6 separate regions of the Homo sapiens genome follow, and all the other regions are linked to region 5. The links are contacts of gene promoters, found by promoter capture Hi-C in blood cells and fetal thymus (Javierre and others, 2016). All regions are on one chromosome and are shown on one strand. The core of a region is centred on a gene start or on the middle of the fragment in contact, and the rest is flanking DNA. Distances in the headings are between cores, read along the strand shown. Region 1 overlaps ZNF180 (zinc finger protein 180). Region 2 holds the start of ZNF112 (zinc finger protein 112). Region 3 overlaps ZNF235 (zinc finger protein 235). Region 4 overlaps CEACAM20 (CEA cell adhesion molecule 20). Region 5 holds the start of ZNF222 (zinc finger protein 222). Region 6 holds the start of ZNF285 (zinc finger protein 285).

Region 1 (3,931 bases), core at 381-2,880, 460 kb before region 5:
TGGCCGGGCGGGAGGCTGGCCCCCCCACCTCCCTCCCGGACGGGGCGGCTGGCCGGGCGGGGGCTGACCCCCACCTCCCTCCCGGACGGGGTGGCTGCCGGGCGGAGACGCTACTCACTTCCCAGACAGGGTGGCTGCCGGGCGGAGGGGCTCCTCACTTCTCAGACGGGGCGGCTGCCGGGCGGAGGGGCTCCTCACTTCTCAGACGGGGCGGTTGCCAGGCAGAGGGTCTCCTCACTTCTCAGATGGGGCGACCGGGCAGAGATGCTCCTCACCTCCCAGACGGGGTTGCGGCCGGGCAGAGGTGCTCCTCACTTCCTAGATGGGATGGCCGCCGGGCAGAGACGCTCCTCACTTTCCAGACTGGGCAGCCAGGCAGAGGGGCTCCTCACATCCCAGACAATGGGCAGCCAGGCAGAGACGCTCCTCACTTCCCAGACGGGGTGGCAGCTGGGCAGAGGCTGCAATCTTGGCACTTTGGGAGGCCAAGGCAGGCAGCTGGGAGGTGGAGGTTGTAGCGAGCCGAGATCACGCCACTGCACTCCAGCCTGGGCACCATTGAGCACTGAGTGAACGAGACTCCGTCTGCAATCCCAGCACCTTGGGAGGCCGAGGCTGGCGGATCACTCAGGTTAGGAGCTGGAGACCAGCCCGGCCAACACAGCGAAACCCCGTCTCCACCAAAAAAATACGAAAACCAGTCAGGCGTGGCGGCGCACGCCTGCAATCGCGGGCACTCGGCAGGCTGAGGCAGGAGAATCAGGCAGGGAGGTTGCAGTGAGCCGAGATGGCAGCAGTACAGTCCAGCTTCGGCTCGGCATCAGAGGGAGACCGTGGAAAGAGAGGGAGAGGGAGACCGTGGAAAGAGAGGGAGAGGGAGACCGTGGAAAGAGAGGGAGAGGGAGAGGGAGACCGTGGAAAGAGAGGGAGAGGGAGACCGTGGAAAGAGAAGGAGAGGGAGACCGTGGAAAGAGAGGGAGAGGGAGACCGTGGAAAGAGAAGGAGAGGGAGACCGTGGAAAGAGAGGGAGAGGGAGACCGTGGGGAGAGGGAGAGGGAGAGGGCAAGGGCGAGGGCGAGGGCGTCAAGTTTATTTTTAAAAGTAGTCTGGGCACGGTGGCTCACGCCTGTAATCCCAGCACTTTGGGAGGCCAGTGTGGGCAGATCACAAGGTCAAGAGGTCAAGACCATCCTGGCCAACATGGTGAAACCCCATCTCTACAAAAAATACAAAAATTAGCTGGGCGTGGTGATGTGCGCCTGTAGTCCCAGCTACTTAGGAGGCTGAGGCAGGAGAGTCACTTGAACCCCGGAGGTGGAGGTTGCAGTGAGTTGAGATCATGCCACTGCACTCCAGCCTGGGGACAGCGCGAGACTCTGTCTCAAAACCAAAACCAAAACAAACAAACAAACAAAAAAGTAAAAGAATAAGGAATGGCTACTCCATAAGCAGAGCAGCCCCAGGGGCTTCTGGTTGCCCATTTTTATGGTTATTTCTTGATTTTCTGCTAAACAAGGGGTGGATTATTCATGAGTTTTCCAGGACTGGGGTGGGCAATTCCCAGAACTGAGGGTTCCTCTCCTTTTTAGACCATAGAGGGTAACTTCCTGACAAAACTGTCATGGCGCTGAGACCAGCAGTTTGAGACCAGTCTGGGCAACATGACGAGACCCTGTCTTCTACAAAAAATAAAAAGGCAGTTTAACTGTTGTAGTATGTGTGGTAGTAATGCAAGCAACACAACCTCTTGGCTTTCACATTGGGCCTTCTTTACATTGCAGCAGCTCTGGCTCTTTGATACTTATTGTGAACCTCACAACCTACCCAGTAAATATACAGTGGTGTTTTTAGGTTTGGAGAATCCTTTCCTACCTTTAAATACATTAATGCTAGCCATTTTTAATAACCATTCCTACTGTAATAGTAAAATATTTTCTAGATAGATAAGGAGAAAAAATTGACACACTTATACCTTGACCTCTCCACATCAAGTGATCCTCCCATCTTTGCCTCCCAAGTAGCTGGGACTGTAGGCACATACCACCGTGCCTGGCTTATTTATTTATTTATTTATTTATTATTTTTTGAGATGGAGTCTCACTCTCTTGCCCAGGCTGGAGTGAAGTGGCATGGTCTCAGCTTGCTGCAAACTCCAACTTCCGGTTCAGGTGATTCTCATGCCTTAGCCTCCCAAGTAGCTGGGACTACAGGTATACCACACCTAGCTAATTTGTATTTTTTTGTATTTTTAGTAGAGATGGGGTTTCGCCATGTTGACCAGGCTGGTCTCGAACTCCTGAGTTCAGGCAATCTGCCCACCTCGGCCTCCCAAAGTGCTAGAATTACAGGTGTGAGCCACCATGCCCGGCCTATTTTATATATTTTGTATAGACAGGGGAGCCTCACTGTGTTGCTGAGGCTGGGCTCGAACTCCTGGGCTCAAGTGATCCTTCCACCTCAGCCTCCCAAAGCACTGTGATTACAGGTATGAACTGCTGCACCTGGCCACTTTTATTTTCTTTTAGTTTTTGATCCAATGGCTTCTAAAGAAATGAGTTATCAAAAATTAGCAGTAGTTGCTTTTCAGTGTTTGATTTGAGGAGGAGCAAAGTATCCTTGAATGGGCTATCATTTAACAGACTGAATTATTGTATCCTGTAGGAAAAAACCTGAGGACACTACAAAGGAATTGCGTTGTTTCAAGGTGATTTTTAAAGAGGGAAGCACCTTTCCTGGTTTCCAAATATTTAATTAAAATAAGTGGTTTTGAAAAACATGGATGCAGCATTAAAAGAGAGACAGTGAACCTGCTCCTCAGTTCTACCCCTTCAAAGAATAACTCCTTTTAATGCTTTTGAGAACATCTTTCCAGATTTTTCCGTGCATATTTATATTTTATAGAAATCTATTCATCTTCTGTATAATGTTCTTCATTTTTTCACTCAGCAATATATTATAGACATCTTTCTATTATTTATATGTATCGGTACATGCAAATTTATTTCTTCTCTTGGCTGCTAAATAATATTCAGTCATCTGAATAAAGCATAATTTATTTAACCAGGCACTTCCTAGTGGACATTTAGTCTCCCTTCCCATCTTGCTATGATAATGTAACTTGCTAATGAGGTTTCTTGTATATGCATCCTGATGTACTTTATGTTATTTCCTAAGGATAAGTACTTACAAGTAGACTTAATGGATGTTACATTACACTTTTAAAAATATTGCCTTTAAAAAAACAAAAATAAAAGAATGTACATAAAAATGGAATAAACTCTGTACATGAATTAATAATATTGTACCAAAATTTCAATTTCCTGGTTTTGACAATGTACTGTCATTATATATGATATTACCAGGGAAAGCTGAGTGTGGCTCTATTTTTGCTACTTCTTGTGAATCTTTAAGGATTTCAAAATAAAGCAGTATTTGTAAATACAGATATTTAATATATAGCCAATACAGGAGGGTTGTATCAATTTATACTTCTTCTAAGAATATATGAAGCTCTTGGCCAGTGGGCTGCCAGAGCTGGAGTCATTAGCAACAGACTAATGACTGTGACTGTCACAAAAACACCCGACGTGGTCAGGATGTTGGTTATGTACAGGGCTTGAGCAAATAAGTAAATATAAAGAGGAAAATGGGAGCCAGAGAAAGAAAGTATACATAAAGAAAGGAGAAAAGCTAGACAGAATAAAATGTGTTATTGAATTGTAATTGGAGGTATCCATGTGAACTTATGGTCTCTAATATATACAGATAAAGAAACAGATGTTTGATTTTGATGTAAAGAGGCGAGCATCTGTTTGTATATTCACAGCAGTTTCTTCATAGTTGCATGTGCATTTTTCTTTGTCAGTTGAGGCTACCTTTTACTGATTTGGAAGAAGTCTTAATAGTATAGATTCTTATTGATCATGTGGCA
Region 2 (4,496 bases), core at 1,275-3,774, 330 kb before region 5:
TTTTGTCTGTATCAGTACAGCCCTTCTATTTGCCTTATGACTTGCATTTCATCATCAGTAGTTAAAGCAGAGGAAACGTGGGAACCATTTACTGTTTCTGCTTATGGCCTCATCAACGGTTGCATCTGTTTTTTTGTGGATTCTTGGCATCCACGTTCTTGTGGATCTTGCAACAAACACATTATGGTAGGTAGCAGCAGCACTATCAGTTTCAGACGCGTCCACACCAAAATGGAATAAAAAGGTAATCGAGTCAAAGAAAGGTTGAGATCCTGTATTCCTTAAATTCGGTGTCCAGTACAAATCAGCCCAATTTCCTTTAAGTACCTGCATTTTTAGCGCACACATCGCTTCCATTCTGTAATTCTTTTCTTTTTTCTTCCTGTATTGCAAGCTTCTCTGTTCTCTCCTTTATGGGATATTTTCTTGGTAAGTAGGTAGGTAGGTAGGTAAAGTCCGCTTTGGTTGAGTTTATTTGGGTTTGTGTCGCGTTTGAAGAAAAATAAATTCAAACTCTAGGGGGAAGGCAGTAGAACTGGACTAGCAGTATAAAATTGGATGGCTAACCAAAAGAGAATAGTGACTATACAAATACTGACTATCCAAACGAGAAAGAGACGACTTAAGGGAAAGTGCTACCCTGCAAGAAATTCCGGGAATTGTCCAGAAGATCCACAGGGTCAGAGACACACGCGCCAGGAAAGGCGCCTTTCATGCACGGTCCGCTGGGTAAAACAGAGAAATATATATACGAGCTCTCTGTCTTTGGAAGCATTTCGGTTCCAGGAAGGGGGAGTTAAGGAATTCCTTTGGGACCGGCACATGTGAAATATCATCCAGGCTCTCAGCTTGGCACCCGGTACTTGCGTCCTAGGCAGGCAGATAAGTGGAGAGTTTTTCTAGGAATTCTGGGAAATGTAGTTTGGGAGCCCCGTGTAGTCGGGTAACTTCCGCTCTAGGAGGCTGAGGCCGTCTCCCTGATCCCGTCGGGAATTCTGGGAAGCGTAGTCCAGGAGGTCTCGGTAGGCAGAGCCACTTCCGCCCCAGGTACGCTAGGCCGCGGCCTTCGTTCCTCCCAGAAAGGTGAGCGCTCCCCGCCCTGCTTCCTGCTCCTTCCGTCCATACTGATGTTCGTTTTGTTGGGGTCCAGTAGCAACCGGGCAGTAGCTCTAGGGGAGGATAATCCACTTGCGGCGAAGGGCGGGATTTGTGTTATCTTTGAATGAGCCTTCTCCAGTGTGGGGCAGCTGGCGCATCCCCACTTAGCGCCGGGGGTCCAAGATCCTACATCGCAGGGACTGGGGATCTCCTGGGTTCTGTACTTCCCCAGCCCTTTCCCCTGACCATCAACCAGCTCTGCCACTTCCTAGCAGTATAATAACAGGCGAGTATCTTAATCTCTCTGCCTATGTTTCTTTTTCTTTAAAATGGTACTAGTATCTATCTAATGGAGTTCTTTTGAGAGTTAAATAAAAAGACTTGGAACAGAGCCTGACAGGTGGTAGAAGATGGGTCTCTTGTTATTAGCACTTTTTAATTTTCTGAGAAGGACTCAGTTCCCTGAAAGCTTCTGTGAACCCAGGATGGGGTCAGAGCTCCAGCTGCAGAGTATCCCTGGCCCTTTTCTGATCACTGAGAGATTTTTCTTTAGGACAGGATCACTCCTGGCTGTCTGGGTAGTCCATTGTAATTCATGCAGGAGTTCTGATTTCCCCCATCCTCCTTTCCTTCTTTAGCCTTGACTTCTTGAAAAAGGCTGCAGGGAGAAGGAGGGAATGACCCTTTGGCACTTGGCAGCGGAGTCTCACCTGAGTAGTACTTATCATCCTTTCTTTTCAGGGAAGACGATATTTCCATCATTCACTGGCAAATTCTGCTCGAAGATGCGCTGATATTTGTTCAATAAATGCAGAAACGGATGAGGGAGTACTTGGGCATGAGTAATAAAGATAGTATTTAAACATTTAGTGCTGATCATTCTAAGAGTTTGATATGAATTAACATCTTTAATCCTCACAAGAGCCCTTTGAGCCTGGGTTGGGTACCACCATTCCCATTTTAAAGATAAGCAAACAGACATAGAGCATAGGTGGTTTATCTTTAGGTCACCCAGGTGGTAAGAGCCTGAGCTGGGATTTGAATTCAAATAGTTTCCATCCATTGCCTTAGTTCTTGATGTGTTTAGTATCAGCTTCAGAACACATATTTGGATTTTACTAGAGGACCGTGAAAGCAAGGTTAATAAGCTTTGAATTTTTGATTTTTTAAAATTATCTGTAATTTAATTTTATTTGAAATATTTATAGTTCATATTCTGATTATATAAATTATTGCATATTGTAAAAGATTAAGAAAGTATAGAAAGTGTAAAAGAAAAAAATTATGCTAACCACAAGATATAACAGTAACAATATTAATATTTCAATGTTTTCCTCTTCCAGTAGACTTCTTTTTGGATTTTCACCCATGTTTAACCAAATAGGCTTCATAGCTTTTATTTTTCCCTTAAGTTTTTACTATGGAAATTTGTAAGCATAGCCAAATGTAATATGACTAAAATAATTCTGTGGAAGCGTCACCCAGCTTCAACCTTTGTTAACATTTGCCAGTCTTGTATCAACTCCCTGTCCCTTTTTTTTTTGTTTCAGTATTTTAAAGCAAATCTCTAACATCGACTTAGTATAATATCGTTTGATTGATTGTCATAATTGCCAAACGTTGATGATCATAAATTGCTTATATCCAAGACTTTGAAAGGGAAATGCCAGCAGCTACTCTAAGGTTTTCATTCGTTGAAGCTTACAGAATGGTCCTTACTTGAGGAAGCTAGGGGATGCAAGAGAATTGTACCTTGGAGAAGGATGGTGATGAATTTTGTGTTCCAGTATAGAGTTTGCCTTGCCTAAGTCTTATAGCTCTTTGTTTCTTATTTCTCTTTATCTAAATCCATACACTGAAAGTTCTTCTATTTCTGGGACCATGTCATACTTTTCTCCATGTGCCCAGCACATCGTACAAGGTTGTTAAGGGTTTATGGTTAGAGTAGCTACTCAACAGACAGCTGGCATCAAGGATTTGCAGTGTGGAATTGGAATTAGGTATCAAAATAGAATAGAAATAACCCCTGGATATATTCCTTAATCTCACTTAATATTGGTAGGTTATATAATCCACCAACTATTTCAGAGTATTGAAGAGTTGAAGAGCAATGATTGGTTATGTTTTGATAATCTAAAAAAATTCCTAAGAAACAAATTGTTAGAAATGGTAACAACATTTATAGACCATGCCTTATAACTGAGGTTGTGTTTCCAGGTTTTTAAAACAGGTTTTTAAAAAATGTTTTTACAGTGACATTGACTATTTTGTTATTTTTGGTATACAATTCTATTACAACACAGGCATAGTTTGTATAACGACTACCGTAGTCAGAAAAAGAACAGTTCCATCACCCCAAAAACTCCCCTCATGTCTTCCCTCATAATTACCCCTCACCATACCTGTAACCACTGGCAACTACCATAACCACTAAAACGCTATAGTTTTGTCTTTTTGAGAATGTCGTATAAATGAACTGATGCTATATGTTAACATTTGAGACCGGATTCTTTTACTCAGCAAATTGCTCTTGACATTCATCAAAGTTGTTATACGTATCAATACTTCATTTCTGTTTACTTCTGGTTAACAGAAGTGTCCACTTTATGGATGTATCACAGTTTATCTATTCTCTGGTTGATAGACTTTTTCCTCCACTTTTTGGCATTTATGAATAGAGCTGATATAAACATTCATGTACAGTTTTTTTTGTGCTTATTTCTGTAGGGTACGAAGCCAGGAGTGTGGTTACTGGATCATATGGGGAATGTATGTTTAACTTTATAAGATGCCAAACTGTAGTATCTGTACCATTTTGCATTCTCACTAATGATGTAGAAAGTTCCAGTTTATTTACATCTTCATCAGCACTTAGTATTTTCCTTATTTTTTTTTATTTTAGCCATTCTAAGCATTGTGACTTTAATTTACATTTCCCTAATGGCTAATGGTGTTCAGCAGATATTTCTTTTTTTGTTATTGTTTCTTTGCCATCCTTATATCTTCTTTGCGGAAGTGTCTGTATGCATGCTTTGCCCAGTTTTACATTGGGTTATATTTTTCCTATTGTTGATTTTTGAGAGCTATTTATATATTCTGGATATAAGTCCTTTGTTGGATGTGTGATTTGCAAATATTCCTTCTCAGCCTGTAGCTTGTCTTTTCATTCTCTTAATAGTGTCTTTTGCAGAACAAAATTTCTAATTTTAATTACATCTAATTTATCAATGTTATCTTTTTTGGATTGTGCTTTTGATGTCATATCTAAGAAGTCTGCCTAGCCCCAGGTCGTGAAGATTTTCTCTTGTTCTAGAAGTTTTATGGTTTTACACTTAAATCTGTGATCCATTTTAACTTTTTTTATAATATGTGATGGTTAAGTTGGGTTTTATTTCTTT
Region 3 (4,047 bases), core at 360-2,859, 270 kb before region 5:
AGTCCTGGGGGTGGCTGGACACATAAGGCATGCTCCCATCATCTCAGACAGGCATTGGGTAATTGTAGGGTGTGGCCTGGTTGATCATGATGGCATACTTGGTGTAGGGGCTGAGTGGGGGCAGAATTATAGCATGGCCTGCAATGGTGAAGGACACAGCCAGCACTGGCTGCTTGGCCCAGGCATTCCTGAAGAAGGCAGCAAGTCTTGCAGCCATCTTGGTCTTGGTAATGGCGATGGCTTGTTACTTTTTTCATTTCCTTAAGGTATAAGGTTATGATGTTGATTTGAGACCTTTTTCCTTTTCATTGTAACCATTTATAGCTATAGATTTCCCCCTTAGCACTGTTTTTGCAGTGGATTCGTTTTCATTTATCCCAAGATATTTTCTAGTTTCCCCTGTGATTTCTTCTTTGATCTATTGGTTGTATGTGTATTGTTGAATTTTCACATATTTATGGAATTTTCAGGTTTTATTCTGCTATTCATTGCTAGTTTCATTTCATTTTGATCAGCAGAGATACTTTGTGTGATTTTAATATTTTTATATTTATTAAGGCTTTTTTGTAGTTTAACATATGGTGTATCCTAGAAAATGTTCTGTATGTACTTCAGAAAAATGTGTATTCTGCTGTTATTGGGTGGAGTGTTCTGTATAATCATAGTCTACGTGTATATATTTGTTAGGTCCATATACTTCAAAAATGTATAAAACATAGAAAATTGATTAATTCTAAAATTGCTTATGTCCTTTGTTAAGATATCATCTAATCCACCAAACTGAGGGAGATATGTGACAAAAATGACTTAGTAGGATGCCATTTGTAATCCCACCATTCAGTTCAGTTTTAACATTCATTTTACATCTTTTTCTGTTAATGAAAATTGACTGATAGTTTAAATGGATAATTTCTGCTTCTCCACCCTTCCCCCAACATACACATAATTTGGATGACCTATTTGTTTTCCTATGACTTTAAACTTTTTATTTTGAAAACTTAAAAAACATAGAAAAGTAAATAATGCCATAGACTCTGTATATCCATACTGTCTTAGCAGTTATCAACTTTCTGCTGTTCCTGTTTTATCTTTCCCTTTTATTTTTTGCTGGAGAATGTCATATCACCCATAGATTTATCAGTGTCTATCTACAACAGTAACTCCTTATTGTCACTTACTATCCATTTTATAATCAGTATGGGCTCATATGTATTTATTTATACTTCGTGTTATAATCCAGTATTGCATTGTTTATTTTGTTACCAAGTTATTTCTACTTTGACCACTTGGAGCTTTTTCAGGTTGCCTCCTGTGGTTGAAATCACCAGTGATTTCTAGAAATGCAAATTAAAACAATGGTGAGATATCATCTTATACCAGCCAGAATGGCTATTATTAGAATCTGTTATGGATCTCTGGAGATCTCAGGTAATGAACTCAAGATGGATTAAATAGCACCATTTATTCAATAGGATGTCCTTTCCCCAGTGTATGTTTTTTTCGACTTTATCAAAGATCAGTTGGCTGTAGGTATGTGACTTATTTCTGGGTTCTCTTTTCTATTCCATTGATCTGTGTATCTATTTTTATATCAGTACGATGCTGTTTTGGTTACTATAGCCATGTAGTGTAATTTGAAGTCAGGTAATGTAATGCCTCCAGCTTTGTTATTTGCTTAGGATTGCTTTGTCTATTCAGGCTCTTTTTTGGTTCCATATGAATTTTAGAATTGTTTTTCCTCATTCTGCAAAAAATGACATTAGTATTTAGATAGCCATTGCATTGAATTTGTAGATTGCTTTGGGCAGTATGGTCTTTTTAACAATATTGATTCTGCCGATCCATGAACATGGGATGTTTTTCCATTTTTTTTATGTCATCTACAACTTCTTTCATTATTGTTTCATAATTTTCCTTGGTTAGATCTTTCCCTTCCTTGGTTAAATACATTCCTAGGTATTTTAATTTTTTTGTAGATACTATAAATTGGATTGTGTTCTTGATTTGGTTTTTAGCCTGATCATTATTGTCGTATAGAAATGCTACTGACTTTTGTATATTGATTTTTTTTAATCCTGAAACTTTATTGAAGTCATTTGTCAAATCTAGGATTCTTTTGGAGGAGTCTTTAGGGATTTGTAGGTATAAGATCAGATTGTCAGAAAACAGAGATATTAAATGACTTACTCTTTTCCAATTTAGATTGGTTTTCTGTCTTTCTCTTGCCTGATTACTTTGGCTAGGACTTCCAGTGGTACGTGAAATAGGAGTGGTGAAAGTGGGCAATCCTTGTTTTATTCCAGTTCTTAGGGGGAATGCTTTCAGCTTTTCCCCATTCAGTATGTTACCTATGGGTTGTCATATATGGCTTTTATTATTTTGAAATATGTTTCTTCTGTGCCTAGTTTGTCAAAGGTTTTTATCATGAGAGGATGCTGAATTTTGTCAAATGGTTTTTATATATCTGTTGAGATGATCATGTGGTTTTTGTTTTTAATTCTGTTTATAGGCTGAATCACATTTATTGGTTTGTGTATGTTGAACCATTCTCGCATCCTTGGAATAAAACCCACTCGATCATGGTGGCTTATCTTTTTGATGTGCTATTAGATTTGGTTTGGGGGGTTTTGTGGGGGGATTTGTGTTTGTTTTTGGAGGATTTTTGCATCTACATTCATCAGGGATATTGCTCTGTAGTTTTCTTTTTTTGTTGTGTCTTTATCTGACTTTGGTATCAGAGCAAGAGTGGCTTTCTAGAATGAGTTAGGGAGGATTCTCTCCTCTTAGATTTTTTGAAAGAGTTTTAGTAGAATTGGTACCAGTTCTTTGTACCTTTTGTGGAATTCCAGTGTACCTTTGTCTGGTCCTGGGCTTTTTTGTTCTTGGGAGGTTTTGCATTGCTGATTCAATCTCACTGCTCATTACTGGTCTGTTTAGGATTTCTGTTTCCTCCTGGCTCAATCTTGGGAGCCAGATGGGCTCAATCTTGGGAGGTTGTATGTTTCCAGGAATTCATTTTCTCTAGAATTTCTAGTTTTCAAGTGTATTGTTCATAAGAGTGTCTGATCATGTTTTTTATTTCTATGGTATTAGTTGTAATGTCTCATTCATTTCTGATTATGTTTATTTGGATCTTCTCTTTTCTTGGCTAGTCTTACTGGCAGTCTATCAATTTTATCTTTTCAGAGATAAAAACGAGCTTTTCGTTTCATTGATCCTTTGTATGGTTCCATGGTTCTCTATTTTATTTAGTTCTGCTGTGGTCTTTGTTATATCTTTCTTCTGCTGACTTTGGGTTTGGATTTTTCCTGTTTTTCTAGTTCCTGGAGGTGAGACACAGGTTGTTAATTTTTTATCTTTTTTTTTTTTTAGTGTAGACATTTAACACTATAAACTTCCCTCTTAGCACTGCTTTTGCTTTATCCCAGAGGTTTTGGTATATTGTATTTTCGTTTTCATTCATTTCAAGAAATTTTAAAATTTGTCTTGTCATTAACCCAAAGATTGTTTAGGATCATGTTTAATTTTCATGTATTTGTATAGTTTCTAGAGTTCTTCTTGGAATTGATTTCTAGTTTTATTCTGCTGAGGTGTGAGAAGATACTTGGTGTGATTTTGGTTTTTAAAAATGTATTGAGACTTTTTTTGTGACCTAACATATGTTCTATCTTGGAGAATGCTCCATGCACTAATCAGAAGAGTGTATATTCTGATGTTGGATAGAATGTTCTGTAAATGTCTGTTAGCTCCATTTGACCTAAAATTTAATTTAAGTCCAGTGTTTCTTTGTTGATTTTCTGTCTCAGTCTATCTAGTGGTGTCTGTGGGGTGTTGAGGTCCCCCACTGTTATTGTATTGCTGTGTATTTTTTTAGGTCTAATAATATTTGTTTTATGAATTTGGGTGCCCTGATGTTTGGTGTGTATATACTTAGGATTGTTATCTTATTTGTTTATTGATCACTTTATCATTATGTAATGACTTTGTCTTTTTTTACTGCTGTTGATTTAAAGTCTTTTTTTATCTGATATAAAAATAGCTACTCCT
Region 4 (4,139 bases), core at 1-2,500, 480 kb before region 5:
AGGACTGCAGGCACGAGCCATCACACCCAGCTAATTTTTGTATTTTTTGGTAGAGACGGGATTTCACCATGTTGGCCAGGCTGGTCTTGAATTCCTGACCTCAATTGATCTGCCCGCCTTGGCCTCCCAAAGTGCTGAGATTACAGGAATGAGCCACCCTGCCTGGCTCATTCCATGCCTTTTCATTCCATTCCACTCAGCTTTGTTTGATCCCTTTACACTCCTTTCCATCTCTTTCTTATTTCATTCCTTTTCATTCTTTTCCTTTCTTTCTATTGCATTTTATCCATTTTTATTTTTTCTTTTAATTCCTTTCAATTCATTTATTTTACATTCCATTACACTCTGTTTTATTCCAGCCCACTCAATTCCCATCCCACGACTTTATTTCGTTTCCATTCTTATTCTTCCCATCCCATTTCAGTCTTCTTATTTCCATCCATATATTTAATCCATTTCATCCGTTCTATTTCCTACCTCTCCATTCCTTCCTAGGCAATGTCCCTATTTACATTCATTTCCATTTGATTGGTTTTCACTTCATTCCACTACATTCCAGTTCTTATTCTTTATATTTCTTTTCCATTCAATTTTTCTTTTTTCCCATTCCCTTCTTTCTTTTCCATTCACTTTCTCTTCTCCATACCCTTCCCTTTCATTCAATTCTATTTCACTGTTTTCCATTCCTCTCCCTCTGTTCTCTTCAATTCCTTTCCCTTTTCATTTCTTTCCAATCCACCCCACTCTATTCTATTCCATTCCATTCTACTGCATGTTTTCTCACTTCATCCTCTCCCTTCATGCCCTTTATGGCACTTCATTCCCTTGTCTTTATTACTTTCCTTTTCAAGCTTTCCATTTAATTTCTTCTTTTCAAGTCATTCCATTCCACTCCTTTTCATTTCATTTAAGTTCTTTCCATTTCTTTCCAGTCCTTTGCATTTCCTACTCTTTATACCATTGATTTCAGTTTCATTTCATTTCATTATTTTATATTCCATGGCATTCCATTTCCCCCCTTTTCTGTTTTTTTTTTAATTTCGTTGCTTTATTTTTATTCTTTAATGTTATACTTTCCTTCTACTATATTACTTTTCTCTAATTTCCTCTCCACTTCTCTCCCCTCATTACCTTATTTTATTACTCTCTTTTCTGCTCCATTTTATTTTACTTTATTTCTTTCTTTCTGTTACAATTTTCCTTTTCATTTAATTTCTTTCATTTGCACTTCTTTGGACATCATGCCATTTTATTTCACTCCATTCTCTGCCTTTAATTTTTATTGTATTCCTTTCTGTCCTATTCAATTTCCCTCCATTTCATTTATGCCTTTGCCATCTCTTTCAGTTACATTCCTAAATAGTCTATTCCTTTTCATTCATTTCCTTTCCTTTCCAATCTTTCATTTCATTCATGATATTTACTTCCCCACATTTTTCTCATGGGAGATTTGAAGCAGTTTTTCCCATGGAAGATTTGAAGCAGTTTATATACAACACTACAAAATGGTGTTAAATTAGAAATAGAAATTACAATCAGAAAAAATATTTTTAACAATAGCAAGAAGTCAATATATGGGTAAAAAGTAAAAATATATACTGGGCCTACGTGATATCTGCCACTATATCTCTTATGTGTCTCTAAGCTTCCTGGTAACAATAAAACAGAGAGGTATGATTAGTTACATCATTCAAAAAGAAGAAAACTGGGCCAGGCGCGGTGGCTCACGCCTGTAATCCCAGCACTTTGGGAGGTGGAGGCGAGCAGATCACTTGAGGTCAGGAGTTAGAGACCAGCCTGGCCATCATGGTGAAACGCTGTCTCTACTGAAAATACAAAAATTAGCTGGGCATGGTGGCAGGCACCTGTAATCCCAGCTACTTGGGAGGCTGAGGCAGAAGAATCACTTGAACCTGGGAGGCGGAGGTTGCAGTGAGCTGAGGTCGAGCTACTGCACTCCAGCCTGGGCAACAGAACAAGACCTTGTCTCAGAAAGAAAAAAATAAAAAAGAAGAAAACTATTAGTTCATCCAGGCATAAGCAAAATTCCAGTAACAAGTTTAGAGCAGTCAAGTGATGGCTCCATAGTTCTAAGGACTAGTAGAATTATTTTAGAGAATGCAAGTGATCTCAACCCTGTCATCAGGACAGCCAGATTACTCCAATTCCAAGAATGGACTTCAGATTCTATATTCTGAACAAGCCAGTGACCAGTCAGAATTTATCCAGAGGAGGAATAAGAGAGAGGCCAGAACAGGGGCTCAAATCCATGTCCTACTGACAGGGTTTTCTTGGGTTTGGAAAAGAGAAAGTTTAGGGACAGAGAACTCCAATATTTTAGTGTCTGACAGGCTTCAAGTAGAGGGATAAATGTGTTCCTTGTTGTTCCAGAGGGCACATAAATTACCATGGAGGATAGGTAAAAGAAGGGTAGATTTTAGCCTAACAGACAGATAACTATTCTTGAAAAATGTGAATATCCTATACACCTTTTTAGTTTTTTGAGACAACGTATTGCTCTTTCACCCAGGTTGTGTGCAGTAGTGCGATCATGGCCAACTGCAGCCTCAGATTCCTGGGCTCAAGCGATCATCCCACCTTGGCCTCCCAGAGTATTGGGATTACAGACGCAAGCCACTGCACCTGGCTGAATGTTTCATATATTAATATCTTAGTCAAGAATTTTTAATGTTAAGAAAGTTAAACCCTTTGAATGTAGTTCGAATGGGGATTAATTGAGAGAACACTGAGAAATATCAGATAACTCAATTTCAGAAATTACTCCTGGGCCTCTTGGCGACTTGAATGCTATCAAGAAGCTGTTTCTCTCTTATTATACAGTTTCTCATTTTCACTAATCTATGAATTCATCTCATTCTTCTCAATCCAGATTGAATTTCTATGTAAATGTCCTGGTCATTGCTTCTCTATAACTTCAGAGTATATATAACAACATCTTCTGCTGCCCTTTAAGCATTTCTAGGTTCAAATTCTCCATAGAAGAATCAGATTGATTCAGGCCATGGTATGGATCATGTTTAGTTTTGTCAGCTCTCTAATCAGCTTTGAACTGGTAAAAACTTAGCCACCTAAGTCCCTCTCTTCACCAGTGTCTGCGTAGGGGAGCCATGTTTGTTTCCTATTATTAGTCGGGCAAAAGGTCTTCCCAGAAATACCACCTAGTAAGCTTCCTCTTATATCTCATTAGCCAGAATAAGGTCATATGGTGCTCCTTGTAGCAACAGAGGCTGAGAAAGTGGTACATTAACATTCCCAGCCTCTTCAATAGAAGCAAGCAAGGGAGGTGGTGTGGGGAAGAAGGTTAGGTCAGTCAACTCAGTGAACTCAGTGTCTGCTACATTCTGGAGGGATTAGAAGGAGCAAACCATGCAAACAGTATGAAAGGAAACATTCCAACTTGAGAGGCATCAGTAAAAAAGGCCCTGAAGAGGGTGTAGAGTTATCAGTTGCTGTATAATGAATTACCACAGACTTTGCAGCTTAAAACAACATGAATTCATTATCTCACAGTTTCTGTGGGTCAGGAGTTCAGGCATTGCTTAGTTAGCTCTTCTGCAAGGCTGTATAATCAAGGTGCCAGTCAAAGCCCAGGTCTCATCTGAGGCTCAGCTGGGGATGGATCCACTTCCAAGCTCATGTGGTCATTAGCAGCATTCAGTTCCTTGCAGGCTGTCATAATGAGGGCCTCAGTTTCTTACTGTCAGCTGGAGGTCATCCTCAGTTCTTTGCCATGTGGCCCTCTCCACAGGCAGCTCACAACATTGCATCTTGCTTCTTCAAGCCAAGACAGAAGTCATAATCTTATGTAACAGAATCACATACATGCAATCATGTATATCCTGCCACCTTTGCCATATTCTATTGGTTAGATGCAAGTCACAGGTCTTGCCCTCAAGGGGAGGAGATTACATAAAGGAATGAATACCAGGAGGCAGGGATTATGGGGACCACTTTAGAGTCTGTTTACCACAGTGGGGAAGTACATGGGCCATTCCAGGAACAGAGATGTGCCAGGGTTACTAAAGTGTGATGAGAATGGAGGAAGATTTTTGGAATTTCCAAAGAAAGGAAAGCTCCAGGCTGTTTGGGCCCCAGACTACAGTGAGTAGACTGGGAGG
Region 5 (3,969 bases), core at 935-3,434:
AAATGCTGGAAATGGGCATGGACAGAAGTAACAGGAATCACATGCAGGGACACACAATTGCTTGGTTCTTACCCAAATTCCCTTCTCTTTGGCTTGTTGTCCCCATCACCCAAAACTTTTCTTCCCTTAGGAAGTGGAAAGTATCTCCATGGAATGGTTGATGCCCTGTGAACAGGCAAAGTCACATGCTTAATCCCAACATGTTCAAGGTAATATCATGTTGGTGCAAACGTAATTGCAGTGTACCATTACTTCCAATGACAAAAACCACAATTACTTTTGCACCAACCTAATAGCCAGGCAAAATTTACTGGAAATGTAGGTTCTCACTGCACACTCAAACTTGAAAACCCTAGGATTAAAAAACCACTCCTGGGGCCTGACATTCCATTACAGGGGGTGCCCGTCCTCACCCACTGAGAGCAGGTTCCTGAAGTTCTCAAGCATCACATCTCGGTACAGCTTCCTCTGGGCAGGGTCCAGCAGCCCCAGCTCCTCCTCAGTGAAGATCACAGCCACATCCTTGAAGGTCACTGCCTCCTACAACATCAAGCAGATGTCACCTCAATCTTACGGCCAAAGACTATTGGGAGACAGCAGCATTGCACTGGCACAAGGGACAAGTGTAAAGTTGTTTTGGATCTTGAGAGACATAGGTCAGCTTATAGATTTCCTACTTATTCTGTTTGTGTCCTGACAATGACTGATTAGGCAATAGGGGTTTGGAATGGAGACTGCACACACCAGTCAACAGGGTGTGTCCTGAATAAATAGTGGGTAAAGGACATTTACTGAGATGCTATCTCTAACTCCACTTCAGGAAAGCTTGCTGCAGAGTTAGAGTGATATAGTCCAAATGCTCTGTTTGAGTCGCGGGCCCTTTGACGAAAATGAGACTGAGGCAGGAGAATCACTTGAACCCGAGAGGCGGAGGTTACAGTGAGCCAAGATTGCACCACTGCACTCCAGCCTAAGCAACAAGAGCGAAACTCTGTAAAAAAAAAAATATATATATATATAGAGAGAGAGAGAGAAAGAAAATAGTAGATAAGGTTAAAAAAATTAAAAAGCAAAAAGCAAACAAACAAAAACTCCTATAGAAGTCCAAGCCCCTGAGCCTTGCCTCAAGGTGCCTTCAATCAAGTCCTAACTTACGTTCTCCACCTGTTCCCAGCTAGTACCTCTGCCTCAATGAGAATTGCATTCAAGAGATGATCAACTCAGGCTCTAACCTGGACTGCCTAGGTTTCAACTCCTGCTCCACCTGTGTCTCACGCCCATCTTTAAAATGAAAAAAGCAGCACCTCTCCACAGTGCCACTGTGAAGATCATGTATTTTGGGGTATAAAGTACTTGGAATAAAGTTACCAATTAAGGCTTAATCATTATCGACACCCATGCCCGAGGGACAAATCCTACACACTCTCGGTTGAGGTAAGCATCTCTGTCAAAGAAAAAAAGCCAAGGATCACTCACGTAGAGCTTTGCCATCAGTAGCCAAGAAGTCCCTTCCTGCAGCTCTTTTAGAAAGGTCGGGCTGGGGAAAAAGAAAGCTGTGAAACACCCTGACCGTTTTGCCGTCCCCCATAAAAGTTAAATGCTCCCCTCACTTTCCTAAAAAGAGGTCAGAAGGCGTCAGGGATCATCCAGCGTCCTGCAGGGATCAGGCAGAAGGGCCGGCGCCCCTGCAGCTGGAGCTCTGACCCCACCAGAGGACCTGACAGGCTTCGTGGGAAATTAACAAGAGACCACCAGACACCGAGTGACAGGGACTGCTTTTAAGGCTCTCATTTGTGTTACCTCTTTCAGGTCCCAAAATGAATCCATTAGGATGGTCCGAAAAGTCCCGTTACAAAACAAACAAACAAACGAACCAGCAATGGAAGATAAACGGACATTAAGTGACACTCCACACCACACTGAAAGGGGCTGCACACGTAGGGAGGAGGGAGGCGGACTAAGCGAGGTCAAAGTAGGGCACACCGGGCCGCGCCAATCCCACTCCCTGAGACCCTAGCAGAGCCCCCCGACGCCAGAAGGCTCAGCTGACTGGAACGGCAATCCCCGCCCGCGCCCCTCCAAACCTCTGCTCTCCGCCCAGGCTTCTTTTCTCCTGAATCGATCATTGGGTGGTTGCGAGCCCCAAGGAAAGGAGACTCGTTCGGAAGGACTCGCAAGATGTGGAAATGACTCAAACTACTGTGGTAAATGAAATAGCAACGTCACAGTTGGGGACCGGAAGTGCTCGAGCCTCCACAGAGCGTGTGGACTCCACTTCCCAGAATTCCCCGGACTCGCCCGTGTGAGACAAAGGGCCCGCGACTCAAACAGAGCATTTGGACTATATCACTCTAACTCTGCAGCAAGCTTTCCTGAAGTGGAGTTGGAGATAGCATTTCAGTAAATGTCCTTTACCCACTGCTTATTCGGGACACACCCTGTTGACTGGTGCGTGCAGTCTCCATTCCAAACCACTATTGCCATTCCTATCGCTTCCATAAAGCCTAAGAAATCAAATATTTTCTTTCTCTGCCTTCATCTAGCTAGAAATTTTCATGGGACACAATTTTGGGAAGTGAGACATTAGGAGAAGTGAGCTGTCCTCTCCTGACAAGAAATGTGCTTGGCAGGCTGTGAGTACACGAGGAGTTGAAAGAGTAAAAAGGTGATCGTCTCAGTGGACTGTAGGTATTGGCGAGGTTCTAATATTACTGATGCTAGCATGCTGGTGGGACCAAGGTGGAAATACAAGTCAAAGTTGTTGGAGAGTAGTGCTGCAAATTATTATGGAGGAATATTTGCTAGAAAATGACGAGGTCTAAAATATGACCATGGGAGAGAGTGTCCCTTGATATTTCACATGAATCTCAGGTGGATTTTTTCATTTCTGAGAAAAATGTTACTGTGATTAAGGATTGCATTGAATCTATAGATATAGGTATTGACAGCCTTGCAATATCAAGTCGCCCAATCCATTAATAATGGATATATCTCCATTTATTTGCGCCTTCTTTAATTTTTTTTTTTTTTTTTTTGAGACAGAGTCTCACTCTGTCGCCCAAGCTGGAGTGCAGTGGCACAATCTTGGCTCACTGCAACCTCCGCCTCCTGAGTTCAAGCGATTCTCCTGCCTCAGCCTCCCAAGTAGCTGGGATTACAGGCACGTACCACCATACCTGGCCAATTTTTGTATTTTTAGTGAAGACAGGGGTTTCACCAGGTTGGCCAGGCTGATCTCGAACTCCTGGCCTCAAGTTATTCGCCTGCCTGGGCCTCACAAAGTGCTGGGATTACAGGCATAAGCCACCATGCCTGGGGTGCCTTCTTTAATTTTCTTTAGTAAGATGTTGCAAAATTCAGTGTCCAAGTGTTTCTTGTCATTGGTTAAGACAGTTCCTAAGTAATTTATTTATTTAATGCTATTGCAAAGGGAACTATTTTCCTTTTCAGATTAATTGTTTTTGTATAGAAATACAACTGCTTCTTCTATGTAGATATTTTTCCTGCAACTTTCTGACTTTACTAGCTCTAAGAGTTTTTTTTTCTTGTGAATTCTTTAGAATTTTTATATATAAGAACATGTCATTAGCATATAGACAATTTTACCTCTGTTTCCAATTTTAATAGCTTTATTTTCTTTTTCTATCTAATTGTTCTGCATAGAACTTCCAATACTACATTGACTAAATGTGGGAAAAGTGGAGAAAACTCATTGTGTTCCTGATATTAGAAGAAAAGCTTTCAGTCCTTCACCATTGAGTATGACAATCAGCTCTGAGAATTTCCATATATAGCCTTTATTTTGCTGGGGTAGTTTATTCTCCTTCTAGTTATTTGGTATTTCAATCATGAAAAGGTGCTAGGTGCTGAATTTTGTGAAACTGAATGTTCTGCATTCACTGACATGATGTGATTTATACCTTCCACTCTGCTCATGTGGAGTATTACATTGATATTTGTATGTTGAAC
Region 6 (4,482 bases), core at 1,827-4,326, 380 kb before region 5:
AAAAAGTCTTAGGGAGGCTATTTCATTCCTGTTTGAGGGTCACTGTTCTATTTTTTCAGACATAAGATCTCATGCTGTCACCCAAGCTGGAGTACAGTAGCACCATCATAGCTCACTACACCCTGAACCTTCCAGGCTCAAGCCATCCTCCCACCTCAGCTGCTTGAGCAACTAGGATTACAGGCCAGATTCACTGTTCTACAGTTGGGAAGTATGAGCAGCTCCTAGATCAATTATACAAGAGCTTTCTCTTTTGTTCTTAACACACCCATTTAAGTGTGGATTTTCAGACTAAAGCCAAGCTCTTAGATTAGGTAAAAGTAACATTTAAAAATAACTATAATAATAAAGAGTATATAAATAATAAGGTAAAGAAATATACTAATTTTAAGACAAAATGAAAGAATAAATACTAGATGAAATCTAATGAAAAGAAAGCAGGTACAGTCTTCACTGAAAAGTAAACTCAAGGTGAAAATACAAAATACTTAAAATTGTTAACGAAATTTTTGGCCCATCAAGAAGATATGAACATTATGAAACTTACACAGGGTCAGCATCACTAAATTTTAAAATCCAAAATGTTTCACAATCTAAAACTTTTGGAATGTGAACATGACACCACAAGTGGAAAATTCCACACCTGAAGTATTTGCTTTCTTTCTGTTCTTTTCATTGATTTTTCTTTGGTCATCTGACGAAGGCAATCTTTGCTTCTGATGGTTCAATGCACACAAACATTGTATACAAACCTTGTGAACAAAATTATTCAAAATAATTCTATAAAATTAATTTCAGGCTACATGTATAAGGTTTATATGGAACACAAATGAATTTTGCATTTAGACTTGGGTCTCATCCTCAAGATATCTCATTACGTATATGCAAATATTGCAAAATCTGAAAAAAATAAAATATCTGAAACACTTCTGGTCCCAAGTATTTCAGATAAGGAATACAACACTTCCATACCTAACAACACAACTTTTAAAAAGTAAAGCCATTTGTATACCTAGTAACTTGACTTTTGAAAAATGAAGCAGGCTGGGCATGGTGGCTCACGCCTGTAATCCCAGCACTTTGGGAGGCCGAGGTGGGCAGATCACAAGGTCAGGAGATGGAGACCATCCTGGCTAACACGGTGAAACCCTGTCTCTACTAAAAATACAAAAAAATTAGCTGGGCCTGGTGGCGGGCACCTGTAGTCCCAGCTACTCGGGAGGCTGAAGCAGGAGAATGGTGTGAACCTGGGAGGCAGAGCTTGCAGTGAGTTGAGATGGCGCCACTGCACTCCAGCCTGGGCAACAGAGCGAGACTCAGTCTCAAAAAAAAAATAAAGGAAATAAATAAATAAATAAATAAATAAATAAATAAAGCAAATGCTATAGAGAGGAAAATGACAAATTTACCATTATAGGCTTTTTTTTCTTTCACTTTTTTCTTTTTTCTTTTTTTTTGGTGACAGAGTCTTGCTCTGTCGCCCAGGCTGGAGTGCAGTGGCATGATCTCGGCTCATTGCAACCTCCACCTCCTGGGTTCAAGTGATTCTCTTGCCTCAGCCTCCCAAGTAGCTGGGACTACACGTGCTTGCCACCATGCCTGGCTAAGTTTTGTATTTTTAGTAGCGATGGGGTTTCACCACCTTGGCCAGGCTGGTCTTGAACTCCTCACCGCGTGATCTGCCCACCTCGGCCTCCCAAAGTACTGAGATTACAGGCTTGAGCCACCACGCCCAGACTGGGAACCTTTTTGACATGCACTTTTCAATCGTTGACAGATGCATAATGAAAAAATCTAAGTAAGCACAAATAAGCATGTAGGAAATTTAAATAGCACAGTTAGCAAGTCTGGGGAAAATATAAATGTATGCATATCCATCTGATAGAGAAGACACATTGTTTTCCAACAGACACAGATGTCACAAAAATTAACCTTGTATTAGGTCAAAAATAAAAATGTTCCTGAACTCGTTTTTTAAAATTCAAGTATGTCAAATTAAATCAAGTAATCCTTCAACTTAGAGCAATATATAAGAACATCAAACATGTAAACATCAAAAGACAGAGATAAGCCAAAACAATTGCACTGTCCCTTTATGTGCCCTAAGCTGCGATGTCAAGCTATAGTTGGATATTATTCAACCATTTCCTGCCCATTGCGTAGAGGTGGGGGTCTTCACTTCTCTATCTAGTCTAGGACTGGAACCGCCTCACCACCCCTACAGCTTGAGGGTGCGTGGAAAAGGGAATGCCAGCCAGATATTCCAAACAGAGACTCTGCCAGCAGGACCAGGTGACCTTTCCTAGGAGACAGATTGTTCTCACACGTTATCAGGGCTTTCCTCCAGGCTAAAACTGTGGGCCTCTAATGGAATTCCTATTCAATTTTCTTACCCCATTTAGGGTACCCAAATTTTTCTTTAATAGAAATCTTAAATCTTAAATGCAATAACATGAAGTAAAATAAAGCCTAAGTCTCAACAAGGGCAAATTTTCAAAAAGAATCTGAAAACTTCCCGCGTTTTCTTGTTATGTTGTAATGTGTCTCTTTTAGGACACTCTCAGTACTCCTGCAATTCCCCTGTTAAGGATTCAGACAATAGTTGTTAATTCCTTCTGCTTCTTCTGAGACTAGGAAATAAATTACAGGGCTATGTTATATCGCAAGTGTAGATTATCCAGAGTTTTCATCAACAGAAATAAAACATGGTGGGGGGCGGGGAGGGAATTATTTAAGTGAGTGTTAATTGAAAAGTTTCGTGGTTTTAACGTTAAAAGACATGCCTATAAAATAAGAACTTATAAAAGTCTTCACTAAAACGGTAAAGTGCCCATTTCCAAGTAGTAAAATATTGAAACTTCTTTTCATCGTTGATAGTGATTTATTTAACATTTCATTATTTTATCGTTATTATGATTGTCGTTATTTTAGACGAATGCACGGAAGTCAAAGGACTTCCAAATGCACGGAAGTCAAAGGCCACCTTCACCAGGGTAGCCTTGCGAATGGCCACTGCTGCGCGCGGGGCTTTCTGGGGATTGTAGGCCATAGGCCTCCTTGCGCATGCGCCATGGTACTGGACGCACGCTGCGGGCGACATTGTTTGGGACGCTGGGGTGAGTCCCGTCTGTACCGCGCCCCTCTTGGAGGCGTAGCCAGGAGTAGGAGTGTAGGATGTGCAGCTGTGACCCGTCCCTGTGGACTGAAGTAGGAGGAGTGGAAGAGGGGACTGGTAACCAATGATAAGGCCTCGTAGGTGGGGTAGACTAGGGAAGTTCAGCGGCCCGACCTACCCGGGATAGGATGGGAAGAGCGTGGGCTCGAGCGTGGGCTCGGTTTGGGGAGCAGCCCTGGGTTTGACAAAACAGTGCATCTTCACGTTTCGTGACAGCGACTTGCGCTGTGCCTCCTCGGGTCGAAGCTTAGGGTCAGTCTTGGGATGTGCATCTCTGGATGAGGGCAGAGGGGCGCTGGCTCAGGGTTTTGGAGTAATGGCTGGACTGTGCGTCCCTGAATGGGATGAGGGATTTGCTTAAGCAGCTAGTCTCTGGATATAGAGGATGGCTTCGGCTGTTCTCGCTCAGTTTGGTGGGGGCGATTCTGGCTCAGCACCCCTAGGTTCTTGGATGGGGAGTTGTCTTGGGTCTGAACTCTGGATTTTGGCAGCTCTGACTCCATTGGGGCATTTATGACTTCAAGGCAGAGGTTCTGGCTTTTGGCAATAAAGAAACAACTCAGACTGTAATACTGTAATAACTCCAGAGTTTAATGTCACCGAATACATTTTGAAAAGAACTGTCCCAGGCCTGGCGCGGTGCCTCACGCCTGTAATCCCAGCACTTTGGGAGGCCAAAGTGGGCGGATCACGAGGTCAGGAGATCGAGACCATCCTGGCTAACACGGTGAAACCCCGTCTCTACTACAAAAAACAATTACAAAAAATTAGCCGGGCACGGTGGCAGGCGCCTGTAGTCCCAGCTACTCGGGAGGCTGAGGCAGGAGAATGGCGTGAACCCGGGAGGCGGAGCTTGCAGTGAGCTGAGATCACGCCACTGCACTCCAGCCTGGGCGACAGAGCCAGACTCTGTCTCAAAGAAAAAAGAAAAGAAAAGAACTGCCCCAAATTATTAACTCCATTCTCACCTCACATGCTGTGAGCCAGGGAGTAGGGACTTTGAGTATTATAAAGCACATTAGCAAATATAAGTTGTTAAATTACACTCAACAAATTTGAAGTTTGAACACTCTCTGTATATTTGATAAAGTTAGAGATTTAGTGTTAATTATTTTAGGTGTAATAGCAGCATTTATTACATTTCTGATCGTGTTTCTGGGCAATTGCAGTTCCAGATTCAGCTGCACTTTTCCTCTAGGTCTTCATTCCCTGAAGAAGTTGATATGGGCATCTGGTCTCATTCCTGATGCATTCCTCAGATCAGAGTAGTTGTCAGGGTGAGGGATGAGAAAGGCATTTGTGTGCGA

Evidence for each region. The method cuts DNA at HindIII sites, captures the fragments that hold promoters and counts their contacts. A CHiCAGO score of 5 or more calls a contact.
Region 1: a fragment that was not itself captured here is called in contact with the fragment with the promoter of ZNF222 in region 5 in 4 of 17 cell types (M1 macrophages, monocytes, erythroblasts and 1 more); the score reaches 6.2 in M1 macrophages.
Region 2: a fragment that was not itself captured here is called in contact with the fragment with the promoter of ZNF222 in region 5 in 1 of 17 cell types (megakaryocytes); the score reaches 5.2 in megakaryocytes.
Region 3: a contact is called between a fragment that was not itself captured here and the fragment with the promoter of ZNF222 in region 5, in 3 of 17 cell types (non-activated CD4 T cells, naive CD8 T cells and monocytes). The highest score is 5.9, in non-activated CD4 T cells.
Region 4: a fragment that was not itself captured here is called in contact with the fragment with the promoter of ZNF222 in region 5 in 1 of 17 cell types (M0 macrophages); the score reaches 5.9 in M0 macrophages.
Region 6: a contact is called between the fragment with the promoter of ZNF285 here and the fragment with the promoter of ZNF222 in region 5, in 6 of 17 cell types (fetal thymus, erythroblasts, total B cells and 3 more). The highest score is 8.8, in fetal thymus.

The regions. Positions count from the first base shown.
Region 1 is chr19:44,485,198-44,489,128 of GRCh38, reverse strand. The region is part of intron 2 of ZNF180 (zinc finger protein 180); the gene reads left to right. Among named protein-coding and RNA genes, the nearest start is that of ZNF180, 13 kb to the left of the region's middle. The HindIII fragment of the contact is 7,682 bases long and covers 1-3,931 here.
Region 2 is chr19:44,353,213-44,357,708 of GRCh38, reverse strand. It overlaps ZNF112 (zinc finger protein 112), which reads left to right and starts at 1,029. Exons shown (of 4, transcript NM_013380.4): 1 at 1,029-1,083. RefSeq lists an enhancer at 720-1,220. The HindIII fragment of the contact is 552 bases long and covers 2,249-2,800 here.
Region 3 is chr19:44,293,274-44,297,320 of GRCh38, reverse strand. The region is part of intron 4 of ZNF235 (zinc finger protein 235); the gene reads left to right. It also overlaps the pseudogene NDUFA3P1. Among named protein-coding and RNA genes, the nearest start is that of ZNF235, 9.7 kb to the left of the region's middle. The HindIII fragment of the contact is 6,273 bases long and covers 1-4,047 here.
Region 4 is chr19:44,506,259-44,510,397 of GRCh38, reverse strand. The region is part of intron 11 of CEACAM20 (CEA cell adhesion molecule 20); the gene reads left to right. Among named protein-coding and RNA genes, the nearest start is that of ZNF180, 7.8 kb to the right of the region's middle. The HindIII fragment of the contact is 794 bases long and covers 854-1,647 here.
Region 5 is chr19:44,023,594-44,027,562 of GRCh38, reverse strand. It overlaps ZNF222 (zinc finger protein 222), which reads right to left and starts at 2,184. Exons shown (of 4, transcript NM_001129996.2): 1 at 2,085-2,184; 2 at 414-540; 3 at 73-165. The coding sequence starts at 2,126. ZNF222-DT (ZNF222 divergent transcript) reads left to right here and starts at 2,281. Exons shown (of 3, transcript NR_184028.1): 1 at 2,281-2,448; 2 at 2,544-2,665; 3 at 3,664-3,969. RefSeq lists enhancers at 1,889-1,938, 2,169-2,218. The HindIII fragment of the contact is 1,542 bases long and covers 828-2,369 here.
Region 6 is chr19:44,400,202-44,404,683 of GRCh38, reverse strand. ZNF285 (zinc finger protein 285) reads left to right here and starts at 3,076. Exons shown (of 4, transcript NM_152354.6): 1 at 3,076-3,116. RefSeq lists an enhancer at 2,923-3,679. The HindIII fragment of the contact is 3,728 bases long and covers 1-3,423 here.